Regions from separate parts of the Homo sapiens genome. Here regions 1 and 3 are each linked to region 2. Evidence: promoter capture Hi-C in 16 types of primary human blood cells and fetal thymus (Javierre and others, 2016). All regions are on one chromosome and are shown on one strand. The core of a region is centred on a gene start or on the middle of the fragment in contact, and the rest is flanking DNA. Distances in the headings are between cores, read along the strand shown.

Evidence for each region. The method cuts DNA at HindIII sites, captures the fragments that hold promoters and counts their contacts. A CHiCAGO score of 5 or more calls a contact.
Region 1: a contact is called between a fragment that was not itself captured here and the fragment with the promoter of KCTD18 in region 2, in 9 of 17 cell types (endothelial precursors, total CD4 T cells, total CD8 T cells and 6 more). The highest score is 9.4, in endothelial precursors.
Region 3: a contact is called between a fragment that was not itself captured here and the fragment with the promoter of KCTD18 in region 2, in 1 of 17 cell types (monocytes). The highest score is 5.1, in monocytes.

The regions. Positions count from the first base shown.
Region 1 is chr2:199,968,207-199,972,562 of GRCh38, forward strand. LOC124906112 (a long non-coding RNA gene) reads right to left here. Exons shown (of 3, transcript XR_007088012.1): 3 at 2,391-3,838. Among named protein-coding and RNA genes, the nearest start is that of MAIP1, 15 kb to the left of the region's middle. The HindIII fragment of the contact is 1,027 bases long and covers 1,626-2,652 here.
Region 2 is chr2:200,506,895-200,511,356 of GRCh38, forward strand. KCTD18 (potassium channel tetramerization domain containing 18) reads right to left here and starts at 3,174. Exons shown (of 7, transcript NM_152387.4): 1 at 2,734-3,174; 2 at 1-197. The coding sequence starts at 122. RefSeq lists a silencer at 2,947-3,406. The HindIII fragment of the contact is 2,465 bases long and covers 1,176-3,640 here.
Region 3 is chr2:199,933,984-199,938,457 of GRCh38, forward strand. It overlaps TYW5 (tRNA-yW synthesizing protein 5), which reads right to left. Exons shown (of 8, transcript NM_001039693.3): 6 at 2,422-2,509; 7 at 1,948-2,064. Among named protein-coding and RNA genes, the nearest start is that of TYW5, 19 kb to the right of the region's middle. The HindIII fragment of the contact is 799 bases long and covers 2,525-3,323 here.

The DNA of each region.
Region 1 (4,356 bases), core at 889-3,388, 540 kb before region 2:
GGTTACCTACCAACTGGGGCTAAGAAGGGACTATGCAATGAATGACATGACAATTTTTTACCCTGGCATATGGACTAAACAAAATGGCCTTTCATTAATTGATAAAAGAGGAAGTGTCCCTATGAAGGTGTTTAGGGGACAAAAGGCAAAGTTTGATCATGAATTTGTCATTGTCTACTGGACCTCTAATTCATAGTCCTTGGACTCAACTTGGATTGAATTGGAGGCTGAATGGACTTATTCCTTTGTTCATTCCCTATGTAGAACCCCCTTATATATCCAAGAAATAAAATGACTATGAAAGACAAAGAAACAGGAAAAAAAAAAAGTCCTAAGCCAAGACTCTGTACTAGTAGATGCACTAAAGCAAAACAAGCACACGCTTGAAGAATAATGAAATTAATGGCCAAAATATTGACAATGCCATCTACAAAGAACTATTTTGATAGGAATCCTCATTTAACAAACTCAACAATACATGCTCACTGAGAGTCAGAGTACAGATCAATATTGAGACAAATATACTTGGAACAAATCCAAAGGATAAATGAAATCTGGACACAAAGGGACCTGATGAGGACACCTTTATTTATTTTTAAGTTAGAGTCATCAAAATAACCTTGGTGGAACCTCATAGTTGTCAAAATATGAGACCACCACTGAAAATCAATATAAAACCCCAAATTTGAATTGATTTATTACCTTAGTAAGGGAGGAGTCTTGTCAAGCAGAGCAAACCATTGATCTTACAGGGATTTTTGAGGAAGAGTGTGTTGTGTTAGTGAAAGGTGGGAGTGGAATTATGTCAGCTTTATTTCAGATGTGTTAGTTTTCATGTCTACATGTTCCATTTGATTCTTTCTCATAGCTTCTCTATGTTCATGTTTTCCTTTAACTTGCTGGGCATAGTTATAACAGCTTTTTGTTTGTTTGTTTGTTTGTTTTGAGACAGGGTTTCATTCTGTTGCCTAGGCTGTAGTGCAGTGGTGTGATCTTGGCTCACTGCAACCTCTGCTTCCCAGGCTCAAGTGATCCTCCGACCTCAGCCTCCCAAGTAGCTGGGACTAAGGTGCATGCCACCATGTCCAGCTAATTATTGTAGATTTTGTAGAGATGGGGTCTCCTTATATTGCCCAGGCTGGCCTCAAACTTCTAGCTAAAGTGATCTGCCTGCCTCTGCCTCCCAAAGTGCTGGGATTACAGGTGTGAGTCACTCTGCCTGGCCCAACAGTTGTTTTAAAGTTGTCTTTCTTTAAAATCTCTTTCTAGTAAGTGATTTTTCTTTTGGTTATGGGCCACATTTTCCTGCTTTTGGCTGGTCTAGTAATTTTTAAAAAATAAATAGGGACAAGTTCTCACTATTTTGCCCAGACTGGTCTTGAACTCTTGGACCGAGCAATCCTCCTGCCTTGGCCTCCCAAAGTGCTGGGATTACAGGTGTGAGCCACCAGGCCTGGCCTGGTCTAGTAATTTTTTATTGGACACTGAATTTATGAATTTTCTGTCATTGAATATCTGGGTATCATTGGGTAGTATTTGCCTTGAGAAGAATGTTGAACTGTGTTCTCTTAGGTAGCCAGTTAGGTTATTTGGGGTTCAGGTTGATTTTTTTGAGGCTATTGTTAAGCTTTGTTAGGGTTTATCTAGACTAGTTTTTACTCTACCAAGAGTGTAGCCCCATTTGTATGGAGTAATTTATGGGGTCTCTACTGGATGCCCTGAGTTATCAAACAGGACAGCACTCTCCATGCTGGCTTAGGGAACCCAAATGAATTCCCAGCACTACAGGCTCTCTGAGAACTGTTCACTTCACAGCTTCTAGTCACTCTTTGCTTGACTTTATAGAGTCTCACTCTATAGCTTTTGTTCATAGCTTAGAGTTCACTAAAAACTCAAGGAAATTACTATACAAACTTCTGAAGTTTTGTTCCGCATAGCTTGCTCCTGTCTGAACATTTGCCTTACACCTCTGGCCTCTTCAGACTCCATGGCCTTCCATGTCTGTCTCCTCAATTCAGCAAGTTTATCATGTTTTGCTGGGGATTTTTTTCCCTGGCTGGGTGGTCTAGAAAGTGCCCCACACAGAAATCTGGGTTATCATAGGATCTGCCTTGTTCGTTTCTCTTCTTTCATAGATAAAAATACTGTGCTTCCTACTGTCCAGTGTTTGAGCACAGTAGTTTCATGTAATCTGCTGAGTTGTCTAGTGTTTAAGGCATCAGGATAAATGTTTATTATGGCCAAAGCAGAACTTATTTTCTTATTTTTAAATTTTTTTATTTTTAATTTTTGTGGGTACATAGTAGGGTTATATATTTATGGGGTGCACGTACATGGGATGTTTTGAAATAAGTATGCAATGTGTAATAATCACATCATGGAGAATGGGGTACCCATCCCCTCAAGCATTTATTCTTTGTGTTACAAACAATCCAATCATGTGCTTTTTGTTATTTAAAATGTACAATTATTATTGACTATAGTCACCCTGTTGTGCTATCAAATAGTAACTCTTATTAATTCTTTCCAACTAGTTTTTTTGTACTCATTAACCATCCCCATCCCCACTCCCCCACCCCACCTCCATTTCCCTTCCCAGCCTCTGGTAACCATTCTTCTTCTCTCTCTGAGAACTTGACATGTTTTTAAATAAGCTTTCTAAATGTGTTCTGTGTTGGTGTGAGGAACACCACACAGAGGAACAAACAGAGGAAGAAAAGAGTTTATATCATGTTCACTGGAGTTGTCTGACTTTTGAAATATGAAGCTGTCACTGTTGGCTTTCACCGAAGTGGCTATATCATCAATACAGGCTCCCTGATCAGAAAACCTGTAGATTCTCTTAAAATCAAGAACTAGTTAGATGTGTTCTACTTTGACCCAAATGAACTTGGCTTGCCAAGTATGGGACACACAGTGACACAGGAAGAAGTTAGAAAGGACTACTTCTGGGTGGCTTACCACTCTTTTCCCAGGACTGAGCATAGCCACTAAGACAATAAATTCTCAAAAATATTTGCAAACTAACAGGTGATGCTTATTTTTAGTTGGCTAGGCTCCTCAGACTATTCTCCATTAAGACTAATTTTCTCTCCTAGAAGAATAGCTATGAGCTACAAAATAACGCACTTAACTCCTGAATGTCAGCATTGGCTAGATCAGGAAAATGTTTTTAAAAACTCCTGAATGTTTTTAAAAAATTATCTGAATTAAATTTTTTCCCTAACTTTTCATTAGAAAAAATTTCAAACATACTGAAAAGTTGAAAGAAGGGTATTGTATTAGAGTTCCCCAGAGAAACAAAACTTATATTTATCTATCTCATATCTATGGAGAGAGAGAGAAACATAGATAACTATGGAAACATATATAGAGAAATTTAACATTCGTATAGTGGTTTAAATGTTAATCTCATCAAAAACTACTTTCACAGAAACATCTAGAATAGTGTTTGACCAAATATTTTCATTGAAAGCATTTGAAAGTAAGCTTCAGACATCATGTATTAATATTTCAACCCTAATATTTCAATATGTGTTTCCAAAGGATAAGGACACTATCCTATATAACCACATGTACATTAGCAATAATTCCATAGTATCAGCTAATACTTAAATTTAAAATTTCACCAGTTGTCTTTAAAATGACTTTTTAATTCAAGATCCAGTCAAGGTTTACCCGTTGCATTTGGTTATGTCTCTTTAGTCCTTGTTTCAAAATTTAGAATATCCCCATCCTCATTTATGGCACTGCAATTTGGAGAAGTCTAGAATGGTAGACACACAGCATGTCCCATATCTTGAATGTGCTTGTTTTTCTATGGCATCATTTCTGTAAGCTGGAAGTTAGGGCGAAAGAGTTGATTAGATTCAGGTGAAACATTTTTGGCAAGAATATATAAGTGATTTGCGGACCTCCTATTATATAACGTCAGGCAGTACCTAATTTCTTATTGTTCCATTGTTTAGAGTGGTGATTATGAGAACCCTCAGTTGTAAAAGTCATTTTTTTCTCTTTATAGTTAATAAGTAATCTGTGAGATGATACTTTGATACCTGGTAAATATTCTGCTCACAAGATGCCCACATACTAACCTCTGGAACACGTGAACATGTGTTCCAGGGGTTAGTTGGCAAAATAGGACTTTGCAGGTATGATTAAATTCAGGATTTTGTGATGGGAGGTTATGCTGGATTATGTGGGTGGACCCAGTGTTATCACAGATGTCCTTATAAAAGGGAGGCAGGCGGGTCAGCGTCAGAGAGAAGGACATGTGATGATGGAAGCAGAGGTTGGAACTATGAGGGGCCATGACAGCCATAGAATGTGGACAGCATCTAGAGTCAAGAAATGGCA
Region 2 (4,462 bases), core at 1,924-4,423:
ATAGATGCCAACATGGAGTCCTTGAAGCGGCACAAGGACTCCCGCCGGGCTGTGTAAATACAGCCACCCACGTTCAGTCGGAGAACATCTAGCACCTCTTCTTCTGCCTTGTGGCCTTCCATTTCTCCCCCAGGCACCTGAATTTTTGCCGCCCAACACTTTCAGAAACTTCAAAACAATGATGTCTTGGTCTCCCTCTGTAAAACAAAGGACAGTCATCCCCGCCATTTCCAACAAGACACTAAATAGATAATATAATAAATATACTTTAACATGACTGAAAATAAATTCCTCAGTACTGGCATTATTGAATTGAAGGATTTTATATAATATAAGAGAATTTCGAGATATGCTAAGAAGTTGGAAAATGTTGGCTAAGAGGATTTGTAAAAGATAATAAACGACTAACAACCCAATCATTGCTGTTGAAATGACTGTTTAAACATGGTAATGCACTCTCTGTCACACAGCAAACAAAGGAGAGGCCTGCTTATGATCTTCAGTATTCACATATCTTTTTAACCATGATAAGTCTGAGGGAGCCTCTAGACTGCAGAGATCAGTGGACAGCATGGAATTGAGCTGCTAGGCTCTTCCCCTCACCAGCTCTAGGATCTTGGGCAAATTACTTATCTTCCTCTTCCATAAAATGGAGGCAGTGATGATGCCCAGCTCAAAGGACTATAAGAGGAATAATTAAAAGAATATATAAAACAGCAAAAGAGCAGAATCTAGCTCATGGTAACTATTCAATAAATTATAAATATTATGCATAATGATATAAATTTAACCATAAGGTGTCTACTGAGGGACTTGATATTGACTCTGGAAATGTAAGGAAATAAAGGAGCAGGAATTATTAACAATGATAACTATAATTCTTAAGTTAGGTAACTAAGGAATATATAATTTATCAACTGAGATTATAATTCTTCTTTTAATTTTTTTAAATTTTTAAAAAATGAGACAGGGTCTCGCTGTGTTGCCCAGGCTAGTCTTGAACTCCTGGGCTCAAGCAATCCTCCTGTCTTGGCCTTCCGAAGTGCTGAGTATACAGGCATGAGCCACCACGCCCAGCCTGAGATCAGAATTCTATGTAGACCAGTAGCCAGGCCAGTCTAGAACTACAAATAACACCTCCAAATCATCCAGCTTCTTCACTGTGAAATGGATGAAGCTTTAGGGAAGTTTTGGGGGGTTTTTGTTTGTTTGCTTGTTTGTTTTTTGAGATGGAGTCTCGCTCTGTAGCCCAGGGTGGAGTACAGTGGCGCCATCTCGGCTCACTCCCGGGTTCAAGCAATTCTCCTGCCTCAGCCTCCTGAGTAGCTGGGACCACAGGTATACACCATCATGCCGGGCTAATTCTTGTAATTTTAGTAGAGACGGCGTTTCACCATATTGGGCAGTCTGGTCTCCAACTCCTGACCTCAGGTGATCCACCCACCTCGGCCTCCCAAAGTGCTGAGATTACAGGCGTGAGCCACTGCACCAGGCCCAGGGAAGGTTTAAGGGTTGGATTTTTTTAATCCATTCTGGAGATCACAGAACCACAAGTGACACTGTGGTGTTTTCCCACCTAAAACAATACTGTGATGAAAAAGGTACTCCCAATTATTGAGAATCTGCAGTATCCACACATTTCATAGCAAGTTGAAAATGGCTGCCAAAAGGCTCAACTACATCCATGTCAATTCACTTTTACTCAGTGAACAACTAAGATCGTTTTGTAGATGCCAGCTAGTCTCCAATAAAATGGAAGGAGACCATTAAAATCTGAGGAAGACCATGTGTGTAGAATACGGTCAGCAACAGAAACCATTATGGGCCAAAGGTCCAGCCTTCCAAAACCACTTATGGATGTGACATCTCGCACTGCCTAGAAGTCCTGGGAGCAGCACTCCAAAGATCCATGTGTGAGAGCCACCTCTGAGGCATGGGATGGAACTTGTTCCCTCTGCCTCATTACTGGCTCCCTGGAATCCTATCTATTCTTCAAGGCCTTCAGCAAACCTAATTTCTTGCATGACCGTCCCACGTATCCTTCTGCCCCCCAAGTTAGAATCCTTGCACAATTCTACAAATATACTGTGTGTCTGTCCACTTTTTACCCCACTTGTTTAATCCCTACTTTTTGGTCTGTAGGCCAAGGAAGCCAGGGCCTGTGTCACTCTTAATAACTCCCATTTACTGAATGCTTATTATGTGCCAGCCATTGTAAGAGACACTTGACACACTTTACCTAATTCACACAAAAACTCTATTGGATGGGAATTACTGTCCCTGTTGACAGATGAGGCCATTGGGGTAAAAAAAAAGAGTGATGTGTACAGGGGCCACACAAGGACTGACTGCTAGTAGGTTGTGGAGCCAGCCCCAATCCAGAACGGCAGGACGAACCCCAAGTTCTTCCTGCTTCACCCCACACCGCCTCCTCCAGCACTGTTTCACCCCTATGGATCCTGACCCAGCCCTTTCACTCTCTAAGCATCTGTCCATCTCAAGACTTGGCTACGATAACACAGCAGCACCCCGATCCCGAGGATTTAAGAGCTACTCCTCCTACCCCAACCCCAGGCAGTCTCTCCTAAGGATAGGAACATCATCATTCCAAGGCCACACCAGGGGGGCACTCCGCAGGCCCCATCCTCAAAAGCACCCAGTTAGGCTCCCTGCTATGTGGAAAGTGTCCAGCCCTCGGGGACAATGTCCCCCAGAGTGCATTCCTATGATCACCTGCATCAAAACCATCAGGGACGCTTGGGAAAACGAAGACACTCCGGCCACAGCACACAGTTCCTCAGAAAGTCTGAGGAGGGGTCGGGATCTGCCCGCGAACCCCACTTTGAAAAACATCGCTCAAGGGGCTCACACTCCTCTTCCGAAGCGGGAAGAGCCGGGAGGAGCTGGGGAGCCAGAAAGCCCCGCCACGGTCTTCCGCGGCCTGGAGACCCCAAATCGGCCCGAAGCCCGAGCCTGCAGCCCGGGGCGCGCGCGTTACCAGCGCGGCCCGTGCCCTTCCTCAGGGCGCCCCGCCGCCTTCCGGGCCCGCGGCCCATCCCGCGCCCGGCTCTTCCGCACCGGGGGGGTGGGGCGGGTCGGCAGCTTCCCAGACTGACCTGCGGCCCGCCAGACCCTCGGCGCGGCCGCCGGACGCCGCGGGGCGGACGCGGAAGTGAACGCCTTCTCAGCTGCTCGGCAACTCGGGAGCAGAGCGGCCCCAGCGGCGCCCCCGTGCGGCCCGGCTCTGAGGCAGCGGCTCAGGGAGGGAGGGAGGCCACGTCCCGGGCACGCCACGCCACGCCACGCCCCGCCCCCAGATTCGTCTCGCCCCAGTGGGCCGCCTCGGAGTCGGGTGGGTCTTCCATCCCGGAGGTAAGGGAAACACACGGTAGAGAAGGCCAGGGCTGAACCCCAAGGGACGGTCTTGTGTGTTCAGAGGCTGGTTTTACAGGTGAAGAGAAGAAACAGCCGCAGAAGTTGCGATTGTCCAAGGTCACTTAATAAGTGGCAAGAATTAGGATGTTAAGTGTTCTCACCCCCAGGTCAGTGCCCATCCCTCCAAACAGGGCTGCTCAGTGCCAACGTGTGTTAATATATTGCACTTGGATAAGTCTATCTGGATAGTGTCTGCAGCTTACAAAGCTTTTTCACACACAGCATTCTTGTTTAGTCTGTGTGACAGTGATATAAAGGGTGATATTTATTTCCCATTATAGCAAGGAAAATTGAGGCGAGAGCAAACATTTATTCAACACTTTTGTACACCTGACACTGTGCTAAGTGCTTTGCATGCACTACTTAATTTCCTGTTAACGATAACCCTAAAACAGTTCTTCCAGTTTCTAGCACCATCTTACCTTGTGCAAGGTACTGTGCTAGATATTTCAAGAGAAATATAACAGTCCTGTTTTCAAGGTGCTTCCCCAAAATCAAAAATATTTGGTTCCAAATTTCCCTGACTGGCTCTTAGAAGAGAATAAGCCAAAGAGAGGTAAGTCAACCTATCCCCTTAGATATTAACAGTCTTAGGAGAGAGGGAAGGTTTGTTCAACCTGTAATTATTAAGCACTAGCTATGGAGCAAGCACTGAGAGTAAAGGACTGGAAGAGACAAATAATGGGCGTTCAACCTTACTTTCCAGTACAACATGCAGAAAACTTGTTCTGTAAATATTTTAGGCTTTGTGGGCCATGCACAACTACTCAACTCAGCAGTTGTAGTCTAAAAGAAGGCATAGGCAAAACCTGAACAAATGAGCATTGCTAGTTCCAACTTTATGGACACTGAAATTCCAATTTCACATAATTTTCATGTGTCAAAAAATATTCTTTTAAAAATGCAGCTTTTTCAAACACTTAAATATGTACAAGCCATTCTTAGATCATGGGCCAGACAAAAACAAATGGTGGTCCATGGGCCATAGTTTGCCTGCCCTTGTTCAAGTGGGAGAAACAGACACTAA
Region 3 (4,474 bases), core at 1,674-4,173, 570 kb before region 2:
TTTACTTTATTTTCAATTGAATCTAAACATTTTCAGAATATAGGTGCTAGAGGAATACTAAAGCAATACCACAATATAACAAAGATGGAACACTAATCACAGGAAAAACCCTTTTAATCCTGTGAAAGGGAGATTTAAATTTTAGAAACTTATTCTAAGAGTGTTTAAGGAAAAACAAAAGCTTAACATTTTGATTTGGAAAACTAATTTTCAAACATGGTTTTAATCTTAACTACACTTTCTTTCAGAATCTTTTTTTTCCCTTATTCAATATAATAGGAAGAAAATGCTAACCATTCAGCTGAATTTAAACCCAAAGACAGGAATTTTGCTTTTGTTTAAAAATATATGCAAATGTTCAGTATTTTTTTTTTTCTTAAAACAATTGTATGAAGAATAAGGGAAAACTACATAGATCTTAATCATGCTCCCAAGATACAAAAACCAAAAGTGTAAATTTAAAAGATGGCAATAGATTTGAAGACTAATACGTTCGTTGCTTTCAATGAAAATAAGAATAAAAAGTCAACTTTTTATAAATTATCAATTATATGAAAGCCATTATATCATATCTGGCCCTTTTGGGGAAGACAAAGATGAACAAAACATAGTTGTCTTCAAGGAATTTATAATCTAGTCCCAAAAGAAGTCATCAAATATGGATCTTTATTAATATTTACTTATTTTTATCAGTGAAAAGTATTAATGATTCTTAATAGATTAATTTAAATATGGAACTACAACTATAAATAGAATTTGTTAATATATCCCTTTAATTTTAATTATGATTTTTATAATCTTCAAGAGTTCACTTTTAAGTATTAATTACAGATGTTAATTACCTTGCTGTGTTGAACTTTATGGACTTTCAAACTAATGCCTATTAATTGAACAAAGAAATTAAGTGACACAAATCCAGACTGTATAGAAAAATAATGTACACAAATGATACTACAGGTGTTGAGATTATAACATTTTAATATGAAATCTTTCATCTGTTTTGGCCTTGAAAGATACTTATCATTTTTTTTTGGTAAATATTTAAGTGACACAGTTCTAAAATACAGAAATATTTTTAAAATAAAATAATTTACAAAACCAATCAGTATAATCTTTTCCCAAATATAAAGTGTCTTACTTGATGTCATTTAATAGAGTATATTATTTTTAAAAAATAATTTAGAAAACGAACAAGTATAATCTTTTCCCAGATATAAAGTGTCCCACTTTGAAAATAATAATAAATAAATAAATAAAAGCTATAAAAAATGTGTCTTACTTGATGTCACTTAGTAAAATAGAGTATAATATTATTTTTATAGGTTGCCCTTGAAAGCAAGACTGTTAATTTAGTTTATTCAGAGACAGGGTCTTACTCTGTTGCTCACAGTGGAGTACAGTGATTCCATGATGCCATGGCATCAACCTCCTCAACCTCAACCTCAACCTCGTGGGCCCAAGAGATCCTTCTGCCTCAGCCTCCCGAGCAGCTGGGACGTACAGATGCACACCACCATGCCTGACTAAATTTATTTATTTATTTTTGTCGAGACGGGGTCTCGCTATGTTGCCCATGCTGGTCTTGCACTTTTGGCCTCAAGCAATCCTCCCACCTTGGCCTCCCAAAGTTCAAGTTGGGAGGATTGCTTGAGGCCAAAAGTGCAAGACCTGTTAACTTATAGGCCAAAACTACAAGGGCTGTTAACTTATAATAAGTTTGCCTAGGCCTGCTTTAAACACACACACACACACACACACACACACACACACACACACACACACATACACACACACGCACACACAGAGTTTTGTCTAAAAATCATCTTGTATAGGACCGGATACATATAACAAATATATATTTGTACTAAAAAAAAAAAATCACATGAAGGATGAGTGACAGAGTACACATTTTATAAATAGCACATTAGTGAGGTCTAGAAATCTTACCAGGAATGAATAATACATCACCAGCTTCAAGGGAACATTCATATCTTCTAGCCTTGGAAAAAAGTGGATATTTAGCCAAGTCTGGGTTATCTATATTCAGTACTTCTGATTTAGTACCTAAAAAGTTCCAAAAAGGGATAATATAGATTCAGCAAAGTTAGCATTTTAAAAAAAGTAATCACAAATATAAATTTGAAAATTTATTCTTTTCTATCCAGTTACTTACTGTACCAACACTGTGAGAATTACTATGCTACTGACACCTAAGACAATTTTCAATGACTCACTCTTTAATTCTGATGACTGATACCCATGTAATAAGATAATTTCAAATTTGAACCTGTTATTACATATATACACAAATACAATTAGGATTAAGTACTGAAGTGTTCTTTTCCTATAAGAATCAAGAGATTTCTCAAAAAGAGTAACTGAATAGACTTTTGAAATATAAACTTAAAAAAAATCCCATACCTTTTAAATATAAATACTGGGCATCTCGAGGACTGAAGAGTACAACACGCTTTTTTCCTGTCACTTGTATTAACAAATTATCCATTACCTGAAGACCAATAAAAGCTTATGGGTAATCATTATCTAAAATTCAAATAAATAGAACCAATGGCATGCTAAACTTTAACTGCAAACCCGATCCTTTAATGAGACTTGACTTACTTAAGACTCTTACAGTTACCTAACAATAAAAACATTTGTATTCCATATACAACTGGGCCTTCAAGACATTTCTGCAGTACTGCCCTAAAATGGGAAGACTTGGCAAATTAGAAAATGTGGAGTCAGAAAACGATTTGCCTTTGCCTCACCATTAACTGACAGCATAGTTAAGCCTATTTAAGGCTCCCCTTGGTTAATATTTACTATCTGTTAAGGAATGCTATAAGCCCAAAATTAGACAACAGAGTAAAAGCACTTAGAAAAATCAGATGCTAGGAAAATACAAGGTACTGTTGCAACTGCTGCTACACTCTTAATATATGTTCAACCATAATTTCATTATAGGTATCTTGATTTTCAAATTATTTCTATAGGAATATAATCTCACAGATTTTCTTTTTTTTTCCTTTTCTGCAAACAGTATGGTGATTTATGACAGATTTTCTTAATATATATTTATTATTGGAGCAATCGTTTCCCATGAATGTAATGGTATACTTTCTTGGTATAGATTGTGAAAAAATGTTAAAGGCAGAGTCACATAATTCTCAGCTAAGGATTTAAGATAAGCACTAAGCAAGATATATTCATGATTTTTTACTTCTACCTAAGCATTCTTCCTTTTAGTACTAACCCTTTACTCATGTAAACCATAACTATACAATTCAAACTAGCGTTCCTCTGACTTAATTTATAATAAAAGCTTTATATATTACATTCTATTATAATTCAAGGTAAAGGGGATACTACTCAAAATTTAAAACATAATCATAGAGGCCAGGCATGGTGGCTCATGCCTGTAATCCTAGTACTTTGGGAGGTCGAGGTGGGCGGATTACTTGAAGCCAGGAGTTTGAGACCAGCCTGGCCAACGTCGCAAAACCCCATGTATACTAAAAATAAAAAAAAAAAAATTAGCCGGGTGTGGTTGTGCATGCCTGTAATCCTAGCTATCTGGGTAGCTGAGATACGAGAATCACTTGAATCTGGGAGGGACTGGTTGCAGTGAGCCAGGATCGTGCCACTGCACTCCAGCCTGGGTGAAAGAGCAAGACTCTGTCTCAAAAAACAACAACAACAATCATCATCATCATCATCATAGAATATAGTTAAAATGTATTACCACATGATTTTCTCACCATGTTATTCATATAAAACTGTAAAATATGCTAAGAGTTCATGTCTATTTCATAATTACAGATTTACTGACTATGGTAAAATCCTCCCAAGAGGGTCTCAACTGAATTACAAAACACATGTATAAAATGTTATACTGTGATTTAGAACTTAAAAATTTTTTTTTCTTTGGAAACTTGTTAGATATTCCTTTACCTTCCTTAAGTTTCTCTACTTCCCAACACCAAACCATATACCATACTAGTATTTTTAATGTTTTTAAAACGCTTATAGATGTGTACATAAATTTAAGCAAACAAAATAACATCATAAATAATCAAGATCAATTTTTTTTTTTTTTGAGACAGAGTCTCGTTCTGTCGCCCAGGCTGGAGTGCAACGGTGCGATCTCGGCTCACTGCAAGCTCTGCCTCCTGGATTCACGCCATTCTCCTGCCTAAGCCTCTGGAGTAGCTGGGACTACAGGCACCCGCCACCATGCCCAGCTAATTTTTTGTATTTTTAGTAGGTACGGGGTTTCACCGTGTTAGCCAGGATGGTCTCGATCTCCTGACCTCATGATCCGCCCGCCTCGGCCTCCCAAAGTGCTGGGATTACAGGTGTGAGCCACCGCGCCCAGCAGATCAAGATCAATATTGTACACATTTTTGCTGCCCTACAAATACAGCAGATATTTGACATTCTCAAGGCATATATATCCTAAGATCTTCAGATA